Linked DNA regions of Homo sapiens: region 1 is linked to region 2. Evidence: promoter capture Hi-C in human tissues and cell types (Jung and others, 2019). All regions are on one chromosome and are shown on one strand. The core of a region is centred on a gene start or on the middle of the fragment in contact, and the rest is flanking DNA. Distances in the headings are between cores, read along the strand shown.

Evidence for each region. The method cuts DNA at HindIII sites, captures the fragments that hold promoters and counts their contacts. A contact is called where the count stands out against the background at its distance.
Region 1: a contact is called between a fragment that was not itself captured here and the fragment with the promoter of EFCAB14 in region 2, in 1 of the 25 tissues and cell types used here (mesendoderm cells).

The regions. Positions count from the first base shown.
Region 1 is chr1:47,174,060-47,180,110 of GRCh38, forward strand. CYP4A22-AS1 (CYP4A22 antisense RNA 1) reads right to left here and starts at 5,564. Exons shown (of 6, transcript NR_199717.1): 1 at 5,131-5,564; 2 at 4,066-4,390; 3 at 2,869-3,010; 4 at 495-565. LINC00853 (long intergenic non-protein coding RNA 853) reads left to right here and starts at 5,191. Exons shown (of 2, transcript NR_047498.1): 1 at 5,191-5,379; 2 at 5,809-6,051. RefSeq lists a silencer at 1-112 and an enhancer at 5,062-5,563. The HindIII fragment of the contact is 5,152 bases long and covers 1-4,130 here.
Region 2 is chr1:46,714,405-46,721,360 of GRCh38, forward strand. It overlaps EFCAB14 (EF-hand calcium binding domain 14), which reads right to left and starts at 4,710. Exons shown (of 11, transcript NM_014774.3): 1 at 3,499-4,710; 2 at 1,891-2,039. The coding sequence starts at 3,683. RefSeq lists silencers at 4,515-4,564, 4,885-4,934. The HindIII fragment of the contact is 12,522 bases long and covers 1,963-6,956 here.

The DNA.
Region 1 (6,051 bases), core at 305-2,804, 460 kb after region 2:
TGGTTCACATCTGTAATCCCAGCATTTTGGGAGGCCAAGGGGGGGCGGATCACAAGGTCAGGAGTTCCAGACCAGCCTGGCCAACACAGTGAAACCCCATCTCTACTAAAAATACAAAAATTAGCCGGGCATAGTGCCGTGCGCCTGTAATCCCAGCTACTCGGGAAGCTGAGGCAGGAGAATTGCTTGAACCCGGGAGGCGGAGGTTGCGGTGAGCAGAGATCGCACCACTGCACTCCAGCCTGGGTGACAGAGAAAGACTTCATCTCAAAAAAAAAAAAAAAAAAAAGATATTGCAACCAATACAGAGAACAGGAACTGGTATTACATATGGAGAAAGCAATAAACTTTGGGAACAAGTTTTTGGAAAGTGTTCAGCCTCTGTTAGTCCACCATCACCCCCACGCCCCTCCACACACACTGTTTACACTGTGGTGGAATTGATTAAGTGTAGATGGATTCAACCCTTAAGGAAAACAATAGAAAGCATGTACCTTACAAGAGCCTCGGAAATGCTCATATTCTTTGATAGAGTGATTGGATCTTCATCTCCTGAGAGTCGGTCCTATAAAAAATAGTCATTGCTTCAGGACATTGATGTAAGTGGCACAAGGACCAGGGTCAAGCAGGCAAAGACAGAGGCAGAGACTAGAGATCCATGAGGAGTGGCCAGAAACAAGTGCCCTTACCCCCAGCCCAAGCCAGGACAGGAACTGGACTAGAGTAAAAGAGGACCAGGAGCACAGCCAGCCAGGATGCTTGGTAGGGGTTCAGGGAAGGGGGAGGCTGAGCCTATGCTTTCCAGGCAGATGGGAGCCATCTGGGCTCAGCTGAACCATCAGCCAAGCCTGGGCTCACCCAGCCCAGCTGGGTTGCAAACTAAATCTAGACTCTAACCAAATTGCAGACTCTTTCTAGACCCTACCCTACCAAGTAAAGAATGACCTTTGAGAAGAGGTAAAACTATGTTTAAGACCCTCAGCTGGGTGAGGTAACAGGGGTGAACATAGAGTGGACAATGGCTAGTGGGCAATGGGAATGGGCAATGATTGACAGGCAGCTGGCTGTGCACGGCAACCATGGGTCTAAAGCATGCTAGGTCTTATGCTAGGGCTTTACATTGGATGGTCACCACAGATAAAAGGAGATCCTGAGACCCGGGGAGGCTAAGTGATGTAAGCAGCTGAGCTAGTATTGACTAACCCACATTCATTCATTCAGCAAACACTGAGTACTTGTTCAATGCAGGCACTATGCCAGTTTTCGTGGGGACATCCCGTCCTCCAAGAGCTGAGGGTGAGATGTAGTAAAAGATGTCAGGGAGACGCCCCGAAGACGGTGAGGCTAGCAGAAGGAAAAACATGAACAACACGGGCATGGAGATGTGTGGTGAGGGAGGGGAGGGGAGGCAGAAGTTCCAGCAGTAGTGTTGGCAGCACTGGAAAGGGAGAAGGAGGTGGAGTCATCTAGTGGCTGCTCGAGATATTGCAGGCAAGGAAAGGAAAATCACGATGGCTGTCATTCACTGAGCATACTGCATGCTTTCTTTACATCCATTTACTCTTCACCACAACCTCATAAGATGGGCCTCATTTTATCCCTAATTTGCATATTCAGTCCCTGATATACCCTCGTTGGGGTACATCCCACTAATATAAAATTGGCAGGATGGGATTTGCTCAGGGAAATTTGGCTTCAAGCTCATGCACATAGCCACTAGGCTACACCTGCCTTGAGTTTAGATTCCTCTCGCAGATGTGAATGGCTGTATTCCAGCAGGAAAGGTCTCCCTAGCTGCAGTGTAGAGGAAAACTTGGGGGTAAAAATAAAAACAAGGGAGCAGGCAGCTGCAAACATCAGGCAAGATCGAGGCTTGAACCTGGAGGGAGATGTGTTGGAAAGAACCTGGAGGGAGATATGTTGGAAAGTGAAACTCAGGGACTGAGGGAGAGGGGGATTCTGGGTGACTCCCCTATCTCTGGTCTGGGTGAATGGATGCCACTTACAGGAACAGAGGACTCAGGTTGGTGAAAGATCAAGAATTCCATTTTGGACCTGAGGTACCTGTGGAGCTGTGCAGGAGGGAGTGGAGCTGAAGGCGCTGATCTAGAAGTTGATACTTTACTGGAAGCAGTGTAACTGAGTGCAAGGGATAAGGTCTCCATGTCAACACATAGCTCTCGGAGACCTCCTATATTCCAGGACACTTGCACATTGCAATAAAGAGGTGTATGTGGTCTTTGCCTCACAAAGTTCAGAGTTCACAATCTTGTTCAGAGAGATGGGCGGCATGACCAGGGTGAGCCTGCAGGCTCACAGAAGCTTGATGAGCTGAGGGCAGGTGGTCAGGAACAGCTTCCCAGATAAAATGGTGATCATCCTATTATACTGAGAGCGGAAGAATCAGATAGACCATCTTACCTTTCAACAGGGAGCCGGACAATAGTGTTTTTGGTGACAACAGTCTCAGCAGAGTGTTGGGGAGAGCGACAAGGCTATAGGTGCTGAGTAGTGAGTGGGAAGGATGGAGGTGGACACAGCAAATGCCACCACTCCTCTTAGATGCTTGACAGGGTCCCTCCCCACTTTCCCACATGCATGTTTCCAAATGGACTGCATGCTCTGCAAAGGCAAACACTGTTGGCTTCTTTATCTCCCCATTTCACACACACACACACACACACACACACACACACACACACACACACCCCAAAGAGAACCCTATGCTGGGGTAGAATTTGCAATAGATTTAAAGTCAAAAGGCCAGGGTTCAATGCCACTAGCTGGCTATGTGACCTTGGGCAAATCACTTTTCTCTCTCTGAGTCTGCATTTTTTTCCTCTAAAACTTGGGCTCAGTTGTAATCACCTGGTAGGATCATTGTGAGGCTCCAATCAGAAAGTGTCTTACACATCATACAGTAGCCCTCAGATTCAATGTAGAAAACAGCACCAGCAAATGTAAATTAGTACAACCATTGTGGAAGACAGTGTGGTGATTCCTCAAAGACCTAGAACCAGAAATAGCATTTGACCTAGCAATCCCATTGCTGGGTGTGTACCCAAAGGAATAAATCATTATATTATAAAGATACATGTGGCTGGGTGTGGTTGCTCATGCCTGTAATCCCAGCACTTTGGGAAGCTCAGGAGGGTGGATCATCTGAGGATAGGAGTTCGAGACCAGCCTGAACAACATGGTAAAACCCCGTCTCTACTAAAAATACAAAAAAACAAAAAAATTAGCCGGGTGTGGTGGCAGGCACCTGTAGTCCCAGCTACTCGGGAGGCTGAGGCACGAGAATTGCTTGAACCCGGGAGGAGGAGGTTGCAGTGAGCAGAGATTGCACCATTGCACTCCAGCCTGGGTGAGGGAGTAAGACTCCATCTCAAAAAAAATAAAAAAATAATGATACATGCAAGCATATGTTCATTGCAGCACTATTCACAGTAGCAAAGACATGGAATCAACCCAAATGCCCATAAATGATAGACTAGATAAGGAAAATATGGTACATATATACCATGGAATACTATGCAGACATAAAAAGGAATGAGATCATGTACTTTGCAGGGACATGGATGGAGCTGGAGGCCATTATCCTCAGCAAAGTAACACAGGAACAGAAAACCAAACACTGCATACTCTCACTTAAAAGTGGGATCTTTTAAGTGAACAAAAAAGAGGGGAACAACATACAGTGGGGCCTGTTGGGGCAGGGGTGGGGAGAGCATCAGGATAAATAGCTAATGCATGCTGGGCTTAATATCTAGGTGATGGGTTGACAGTTGCAGCAAACCACCATGTTTTTACCTATGTAACAAACCTGTACATCCTGCACATGTAGCCTGGAACTTAAAATAAAATTAAATTAAAATTAAAAAGAAAACAGCACCACCACCATCAAGGAAAGCCTGTTCCCAACCTCCAATTCCAGCTCACTAGCTCAGCCTGTCTCATTCCCCTTTTTCTCTCTCCCCTCTCCTCCCTGCCCCTTTCCTCACTTTGCCCCCACCTGTCCTCACCATCCCACCCCATACCTCCAAGCTCACAGCTAGAACTGACCAAAGGCCCAGTTATTTATTTACAAAGTCCATGTCCAGAACTGTACCAGCCTCAGCGGTGTGGAATAAACTGGTGTGGCCAGGTCCATTGTGCTGATGCCTCAAGAGATCCAGGCTGGTACAGATGGGTCTGGCACATTCTGTACCTGCCAGCCAAGCAGAGCATCCAGCTTACTTCTCACTCGACTCCTTACATAACGCTCGTCGGGTACTCTCCATTCCTTGGGCTTAAATTCCATAGTGTAATATTAGTAAACCAGGCTAAATGATCCTAAGGATCTTGCTAGCTCTGACGCACCGTGATCTTGCATCCAATTCAGTTCACTCTGTAATAAATAATCATAATAACAATAGTAATTTTCCAAATAGCTAACAGTTATTGTGTACTGTATGCTAAGCACTATTCTATGTATTTCATGTGAATGTTTAACATTCATAACACCACTTATCATGTAGACATCATTTACTGCCCTAATTTACAGTGAACTGGAGCTCCGAGAGTCACGTTGATTTAACCACAGTCCCAGGCTACCAAGTGTCCAAGCTGTGCTGCTTCCAAGCTGCCTGACCCAGACCTGAGCTCTTAACCTCTCAATGGGCATCCAGGTCGAAAGCAGAATCTCTGGCTCAAGTGCCGACTGCCCAGCTGTTTCAGAACTCCACCATGCACCCAACTGCTCCTCCAGGACTTCCCTACGGATGTGTTGCAGGCTCTGAAACGTCACACATCCACGCCGCATCCTCATCCCACACATGCTCCTGCTTGTCCCTGGCATCTGCCATTCTCAGTGCCATTCACTAGCCTATATGATGCCTTCGAATCAGAGGAAGTTACCTCTCCCTCCAGGGATACGGGCCCACACCTGGTCTCAGGGACCCTTTAGTGGAGGCACAGTCTATATAGCCCAGAGCAGTGCCCCTGATGCCATCGTCTTCCAATTTGCTCAGAGCAGACACTGGGATTCATCCTTAATATCTCTCTCTTCTCTCTCTCTCTCTCTCTCTCTCTCTCGCGGAGGCCCCACTGCCCTTGCATTCCACAGGAAGTCCCAGTTGCTGGCATGACCTGAGAGGTTCCTGGGACCACGCCATGGAAATGCGTCCGGTCCCAGTGTGACGGGGAAGAGCCGCGCCTGAAGCTCAACTTCCGAGGCTCTCATCAATCTACGCTTCCTTTGGAGCGTGCAGCCACCAGGTGGCAGCCGAGGCCACGGGCAGACAGAAAAGCTCCCGAAACTGAAGGACTGCCAGGCAGCAGAGTTCCGGAGGGCTCCCAGGACCTTCAACCAGAAAGAGACAGAGCATATGCGCATATGTATGTCTGAGCCCGTGCACGGAGGAGGAGTATGAACAGACACCGCGGGACAGATGGCTGGAGTTTAGTCCCTTCCTTCGGGGCTCTTCACCACTCCTTGGGCTTCCCTTCTCCTGTCCAGCCCTGTCCTGGGTGCACAGAGAGGGAAGTCACTCCATTCCTGCCCTTGAGGAGCTCCCAGACCCAGGGCAGGAGCAGGATGCAGACAAGTAGACAGCACCCTGGGGTGGGTGGAGTGAGTGGGGCAGGTGGGGCGGGTGCAAAGAGAGGGAGGAGCAGGGGCTGAAGTTGCCCGGAGGAAGTGCTGAACCCAGGAGTGGGGAAAGGAGCATCTGGGAAGAAATGGCATCTACGCTGATCATGGAGGGCTTTCTGGCAAGTCTCAGGAGCAATAATAACACGGATGTCATCTCTGTTTCCTCCCAGCAGCCCTGCAAGGAATGTACTATAGAGCCAATTTTACCGGCAAAGGAATGGAAGATCTGAAAGGCTAGGCGATCCCACAAGCATCGAGGAGCAGGCTGGAATTTGAACCAATCGGCATGATTCCCAAGCTCAAGCTTTTGGCCACCCCTGCACTGCCAGGGACAAAAAAAAAAAAAAAAAAAAACCCTGGGAGGAGAGCCAAGCTAGGGAGTCAAGACCCTCCAGCCAGGTCTGGATGGGAGGCAG
Region 2 (6,956 bases), core at 3,460-5,959:
TAGAGCCAAAAGTTTCAGTGTTGCTAAAAAAAAAAAAAAAAAAAATTCTATGTTAAATTCGGTCAAAGCTATTATGCAAACATACCTTTTGGAAAAAGTAATTTGGGCCGAGCACAATGGCTCAAAGTTGTAATTCCAGCACTTCGGGAGGCTGAGGCAGGCAGATCACTTGAGCCCAGGAGTTCGAGACCAGTCTGGGCAACATAGCAAAACCCTGTCTTTTACAAACATACAAAAATTAGCAGAGGGTGGCGCGTGCCTGTAGTTTCAGCTATTGGGATTGGGGGTGTGGGGTGCTGACACGGGAAGACTGCTTGAGCCCATGAAGTCAAGGCTGCAACGAGCCAGATGCCACTGCACTCCAGCTTGGGTGACAGAGCAAGCAAGACCTTATCTCAAAAAAAAAAAAAAACAAGAAAGAAAAAGAAATGAAAAAGTAATTTGGATGTGTAAAATATAACTTTACAATTTAGAATATACAAAACTCTGTGACTTCAAAACCTCCTTAAACTTTAAAACTCACTCATGAGATAAACATTTCTGACAGTTGCACAGTGTTCAAAGTAGGTATGGTTGTTGTAAGCCCTTCACGAGTATGTAACTTAGTTCAAGTTTCCTAAAACTTTAAAATGATAACACTCATTAATGGTATTTAAATGTTTTTTTCTTGAAAGAGATCGTGTTACTAGTATAAGCACAGCTAAGGAGAGAAATCTATCAGTCCTTGCTCTAAGCTTGAAAACTGATAAGTATGCAGAAAACCAGTTCTTCCTGTTTCTTCTACTAAACTTCTTTTAGATTACTGACCAAGTTGATATCAAAGAGATCTGTAGGCACTTGAAGAAATGTGCATAGGCTTACAAGGCCACCAGGAACAGTGGTGCAGACAGTAGTGTTATAAATGTGAATTTGGGCAGCAAGGGGCAAGAGGACGCTCAGCTCTGTCATACTTAATCACTGAACAAATTACTTAATCCTTCTAAGAGCACAAAATAATAAAAATAATACCCATCTCACCGGATTATTTTGTAAAGAAAATGATTTGAGACTTGGCACAGAGTAGGCCTTCCACAAATGTTAGCTACTCTTATTATTGCCCATTCCTATGCTCCTATTCAGTCCTTCTAAAGAGGCAATCGTTTGACAGATGCTCCCACATTCTTTCTCAAATGGCCCTGTGAGGTGGAAGGAATAGCCCAGTGTTGTCATTGCCACTTTATGCTTGGGGAGATGCAAGCCATAAGTAGAGGTTACACCAAGTTCTAGACTCCTACCCCTAGGGTAGGAGTCTCTTGCCTTTTGCACGCTAAGCATTGACTGCAATGCCATTATTTCAGATGCTACTTGTCCTGCTGGTGCATAAGCACTGCCTTTTATTTGTGAGTTTAAAAACAAATAAGTGTTACAACATTCAAGCAGAGAGCTCAAAAAGAGTATAAAAATACTGAGAGGAACGTATAATTGCTTCACTAGAATGGGCAAAAATCTTCGTTCAGCAGGGTTGACTTTGTCCCAGAACCTGGAAAGGAGTCCAGGATTACACCCTGAAAAGAGTGACCACTGCTGGGTGTGGTGGCTCACGCCTGTAATCCTGGCACTTTGGGAGGCCGAGGTAGGTGGACCACCTGAGGTCAGTAGTTTGAGACCAGCCTGGCCAACATGGTGAAACCCCGTCTCTACTAAAAAGACAAAAAAATTAGCTGGGTGTGGTGGCACACACCTGTAATCCCAGTTACTCAGAAGGCTGACCATGAGAATCACTTGAACCTGGGTGGCGGATGTTGCAGTGAGCCGAGATTGCGCCACTGTACTCCAGCCTAGGCGACAGAGCAAGACCCTGTCTCAAAAAAAAAAAAAAAAAAAAAAAAAAGAGAGTAACCACTTACTTACTTGTTCGAAATTTTTCCTTGAGGGCATCCAGATCCTCCTTGAGAGCAACCTGCATCCACACCAAGCCAACACAGGCCACAACACAGGCAGCAAGGATGACAAAACCACAGAGCGGATAACAGATCTTGCAGCATCGTAAATAGTCTCCCCTGCTCAAGAGGACAAATTCAACCATGAGTACAAAAGTGATTATGGGTATAGCTTTATTAGCAATAGTACACGTTTTGCCATGCAATTATCTCCTTTAAATGAATAACCAGTGAATTAACCAGGGGAGGCAGGGTAAAGCACTTAAATGAATAAATAATATGACCTATTAAGGGTTCATCTACTGGATACAAAGGTTTCAAATGTCACATAAAACAGAAGGAGTTCCTGCAGGTAAAAGGAAGAACCTAAAGGCACTGCAGCTGTCATTATCAGGAGGGAGGTCTTTGAATACAAGCTCAGGTCACAAAAGTGTAAAGACCAATGTTTCTCTGCAATTCCATCTCTGCACTGGAATTTGCCTATTGATTTCTCTCTGAAATACATACTCACTCCGGGGAACCTTGCTCCAGTTTACTGAAACTTTATAAACTTTTGAGCAAGTTTTACTGCAAAAGAAATGAAAGAAACAGGATCTGTAGTTTTAAGTGGACACCTGGTGTATTCTAGCTTATTGGCTCAGAAGTAAGGAAACATAGAAGGGGCTGGATTTCACACAAAACATCAACCAACCTTCAAGGTCTAAACTAACTTAGTAGGGTTACTACTCCAGGTACCTTCTGATGAAGGTAACACTTCAACTGATCTTCATAACCCAAACCCAGGATTGCCCTTAACAGCCTTAGCTGACAAAGCTCATTAGAAATCAAACTCTTCCTTTAACAAAACAAGACATTTTAAACCAACCAACCACTCAATGTCAGCACCCCGACCTTCTGCCTAGCCATTGTTTCTACATCCTCAGCAGAATCCTCTTTTCTTTTAGTGTGCTCTGAGAGAGTCAAAGGACGTTTTTGAAGTTCCCTTTAGTCCTTTCCCATCCTGAGCCCCAATCCCAATGTCCTCAAATCTTACTACTTGATTTGCCTAGTGGTCTCTCCACCTATGAATGGCTAGGGAAAATGATGCCTCTTCTTTTGCCCCCCGACCCCACCTACTCTCAAGGCTCATACTTCCTACAGTATATCTCTCACCATATTTCCCCACCACCAATATTCAGACTCATCAAGAGTGCAAAAACGAAATAATCTGCAGTCTTAAAGTCTCTGCTTCTCCTTTGTTCTACACTGTTTTAAAAAGTCTAGTCCCCAAAGCTTCTCTGCTCCTCTGTCTCCATTCTTTGCTTCTTTAGGACTCCCTGGGCTCTTGGCACATTCTCCAAGTCCACATTTCCACCTCAGATTTGGAGCTTTTCTTTCTACACCTAAAGACAGATCTCTAACTTATTCTTCATTCAGGATCTGAACTTACCTTCTCCCTAAAACCGTTTTTCCCTCTTTGACTTCCAAGGCCTACACCCTTTTTTCTTCCTAAGGACTTCCTTTCTCCTTCCTGTCAATGTGGCCCCTTGGTAGTGCAAGGAGATGCCTTCTTCCCATTCCACCTTTCACCACTACTCACTTGGCAAAGCGAGAGCGATTTCCAACCACACCGAATTCCTCTTCCTCTTCGGAGCTGGACTCAGAGTCTGAGTCGGGAGGCTCAGTGCGAAGCAGGCGGTGACTGCTTGGGCCTTTCTTGGGCTTCTTTCTCCGGCTGTCCCCAGCCAAACCAATCAATGCATTGAGCTCTTTGCGCTTTTTCATCTTTTTGTGTGGGGTGAGTGGAGCCCCGACTCCTGAGCTGCCAGGTTCGTACCCGATGCCCAATTCTCTTCCTGCCTTGGAGCTGCCTTCCAGGGTTGGGAATCCTGGGCCAGAGCCCCCTGGTCACTCCCACCTAGGGGTGGGACTGACCAGATCCGCCAGGGACTGGAGATTGGAGCCCAGAGGAAACTGGAACTCAGATGGGTGGGGGAAATCACATAGAAATGGCCAAGGAGCTGGTGACCCCAAAGGATAAGGCCTTGGGTGCAGAGTGTTAGTAGAGGGTGGAGAGGGACCTTTATCTCCCAAAGGGCGAAAAAAAAGCCAGGTCAAAAATGAAGGATTCTCAGCCCGGATAAGTAGGCAATACTTCTAAGGGTGCTCCAGGAGGTGAGGAAGGGCACGCTTAAAATACGTGTTTCGGACCTCCGGAGCAAGATTTCCAATGGAGAGGGAAGAGAAACTCGTTCTTGAATGGGAAGAGAGTGGGGAGGTGCAGAGTAAGAAAGTGGGAACGCGTCAGTCCCTTCCTTGCAGGAGAGGTGGCGGCAGGAGGGGGCTCCCAGCAGCTACAATCCCAACACTGCTTGGCCGCAGAGAAAATGCCCTGGCCAGGAAGCCGGCTGGGGTGTGTGATGATCACCGTTCTCCGGCCTCCGTCCTGAACGTGAAGGGGGCCCGAGGCCGAGGAAGATCCGGAGCCCGGCTAGAAGGGTCGGCCTGAGAGAAGCCAGTCCCGCGCCTGATAGACCCCCGCCCCGCTGTCTGGGCCTTGGGGACACGGTGCCGCGGGCGACGGCGGCTCGGCCGACCGAAAGCGCTCCCGCCCGGAGTTTGAGGTCTCCGGCACGGGCAACTCTCGGCCACTCACACGCGCAGGCCCCACTCCAGCCGCGACTCCGGCCCCTGCTCCGGCTTCGGCCGCGGCTGCTCCCGACACGTTGTTGTTGGCGTTGGTGGCGGCGGCTGCGGCGGCGGCGGCCGCGAGCTCCAGCCCCGGGCCATCGCTCCAGCCCCAGATCACTTCCCCTTTGGCAGCGGCCGCCTGCGCCGCCTGCCAGTAAGCCGCACTCCCATTGGTCGCCCGCTGGGGTGACGTCACGCCGGGGCGAAAGTCGTGGCGGAGAGGTGGGGCGTTAAAGGGGCCCTGCCCCGGCTGGGGCTGGGTCCCACCTGCCGATTAGGGTGGCCCCGCCCCCAGGAGGGCTTCCGGGACCTGCTGCGAACCTGAGCCGGGTGGAGTCCTGCATCCTGCGGAGCGCGGGCGGGGCAGGCAAAGCGCCCGGCTGCTCGACCTACTTCGAAAGTTCATCAGCCGCCCACGCCCCCTGGACTAACCAAGTCTGAAGGCTCCGCCTCTCTGACTCTCACACAGGCTGTTAAAAGTTTAGGCGCGTTTCAGATTAATTAACACATTCATTCAGTCAATAAATATTTATTGAGAGCTTACTTACTACGTGTCAGGAGCTGTTCTAGCGCTGGGGATACAGCCATGAACAAAATAACCAGGGTCCTTGTCTTCCTGTATAGTGTTGCCAGATTTAGCAAATAAAAATGTAGGACACCCAGTAAAGTTTGAATTTCAGAGAAACAGCAAACAATTTTTTAGCATTAAGACATCCCATGCAACATCTGGGACATCCTCACACTAAAAAATTATTCATTGTGTATGTGAAATGCAAGTTTAACTGAGCATCGTGTATCTTATCTGCCAATCTATTCCTGCAGTTTATTTATACTCTAGAGGGAGGAGAGCAACAATAGGCAAACATATTAAATGTCAGGAGGTGATAAGTGTTATGATGAAAATTGAAACACGGTCAGGTGATGGGGAGTGCCTCTGTGAAAAGGGAACATTTAGTCAGCTTATCGGAGGAGAGGTGAGGGAATGAGCTGTGCAGTGGCTGCAGGAAGGAGTGACCAGGAAGACCTGTTGTGGCTGGACCAGAAGAGCAAGGAGCAGAGTGATAGGAAATGAGGTCAGAGAAGCATCAGAGGCCAGGGCTTTAGGGCCTTATGGATCACTGAAAGGACTTTGGGAAAGCACTGGGGGCTTTAAGCTGAGAGGTAGCATACTCTGGCTTTTCCGTAAAAAAAAAAAAAAAAAAAAAAATTCACTCTGGGCCAGCGCGATGGCTCACGCCTGTAATCCCAGCATTTTGGGAGGCTGAGGTGGGCGGATCACAAGGTCAGGAGATGGAGACCATCCTGGCCAATATGGTGAAACCTTGTCTCTATTAAAAATACAAAAATTACCTGGGCGTGGTGGTGCGCGCTTGTAATCCCAGCTACTTGGGAGGCTGAGGCAAGAGAATGGCTTGAAACCGGGAGGCGGAGGTTGCAACAAGCCGAGATTGCACCACTGCACTTCAGTCTGGCAACAGAGCGAGACTCCGTCTCAAAAATAAATAAATAAATAAATAAATAAATAAATAAATAAATAAATAAATAAATAAAATAAAATAAAATAAAGGAAAAAATTACTCTGGCTACTTTGTAGAAAAAAGTGGGGGGAGAGTGAGGAACACAGGAGAGCAGTTTGTTACAGTCCAGCTAGAGATGATGCTGATAGATTAGAGAGGCAGTAGCAGAGATGGAGAGCATTCTGGATGTTTCTTGAAGACAGAGCTGACAATTTTTGCTGATAGATTAGATGAAAGGTGTGAAGAGAAGAGAGGGTTTGGCGGTGGAAACACTGGAAGCAAGGAATTGTTATTTATTGAGATGGGGTAGAGCAAGTTTGGGACAAGTTTGACAAGCCAATTCAATATTCAAATGGAGGCTGTTTGGTATACCCATTGAGAGTTCTCTGGGCACAGGTTGGGGCCTGAAATATCAATTGGGAAGTCATCAGATATAAATGGAATTTAAAGCAAAGTGCTTTGAGCTACTTGGAAGAAAGTCACTTAAAGTAATTTTTATGCCCATATTCTTACTGTGGCAATTACGCTGCTTTTGTCCAAGGATTCTCGCAAAGCCTGGGCCTGTATCTGATTTGTTTTTAAGTGTCTAGCCCAGAAGTGTACTCCTAAATAACGATGACCCAATAAATATGTGATGACTACATAAGTGGGCAGTGTTGCAAAGAGGTATGAGTGGACTTTTGGAATCAAAATCAAGAAACCTGGGACTCAATCATGTCTCTACTTCTTCCTGGCTCCATCAGCATGGAAGCCGTTTAGTTTCTCTGAGCTTCAGTTTTCTCCTCTGTAAAATGGGGATAAACACCTATTTCACAGGACAATGAGATGAATGTGAAAGTGTTTTTGAAGC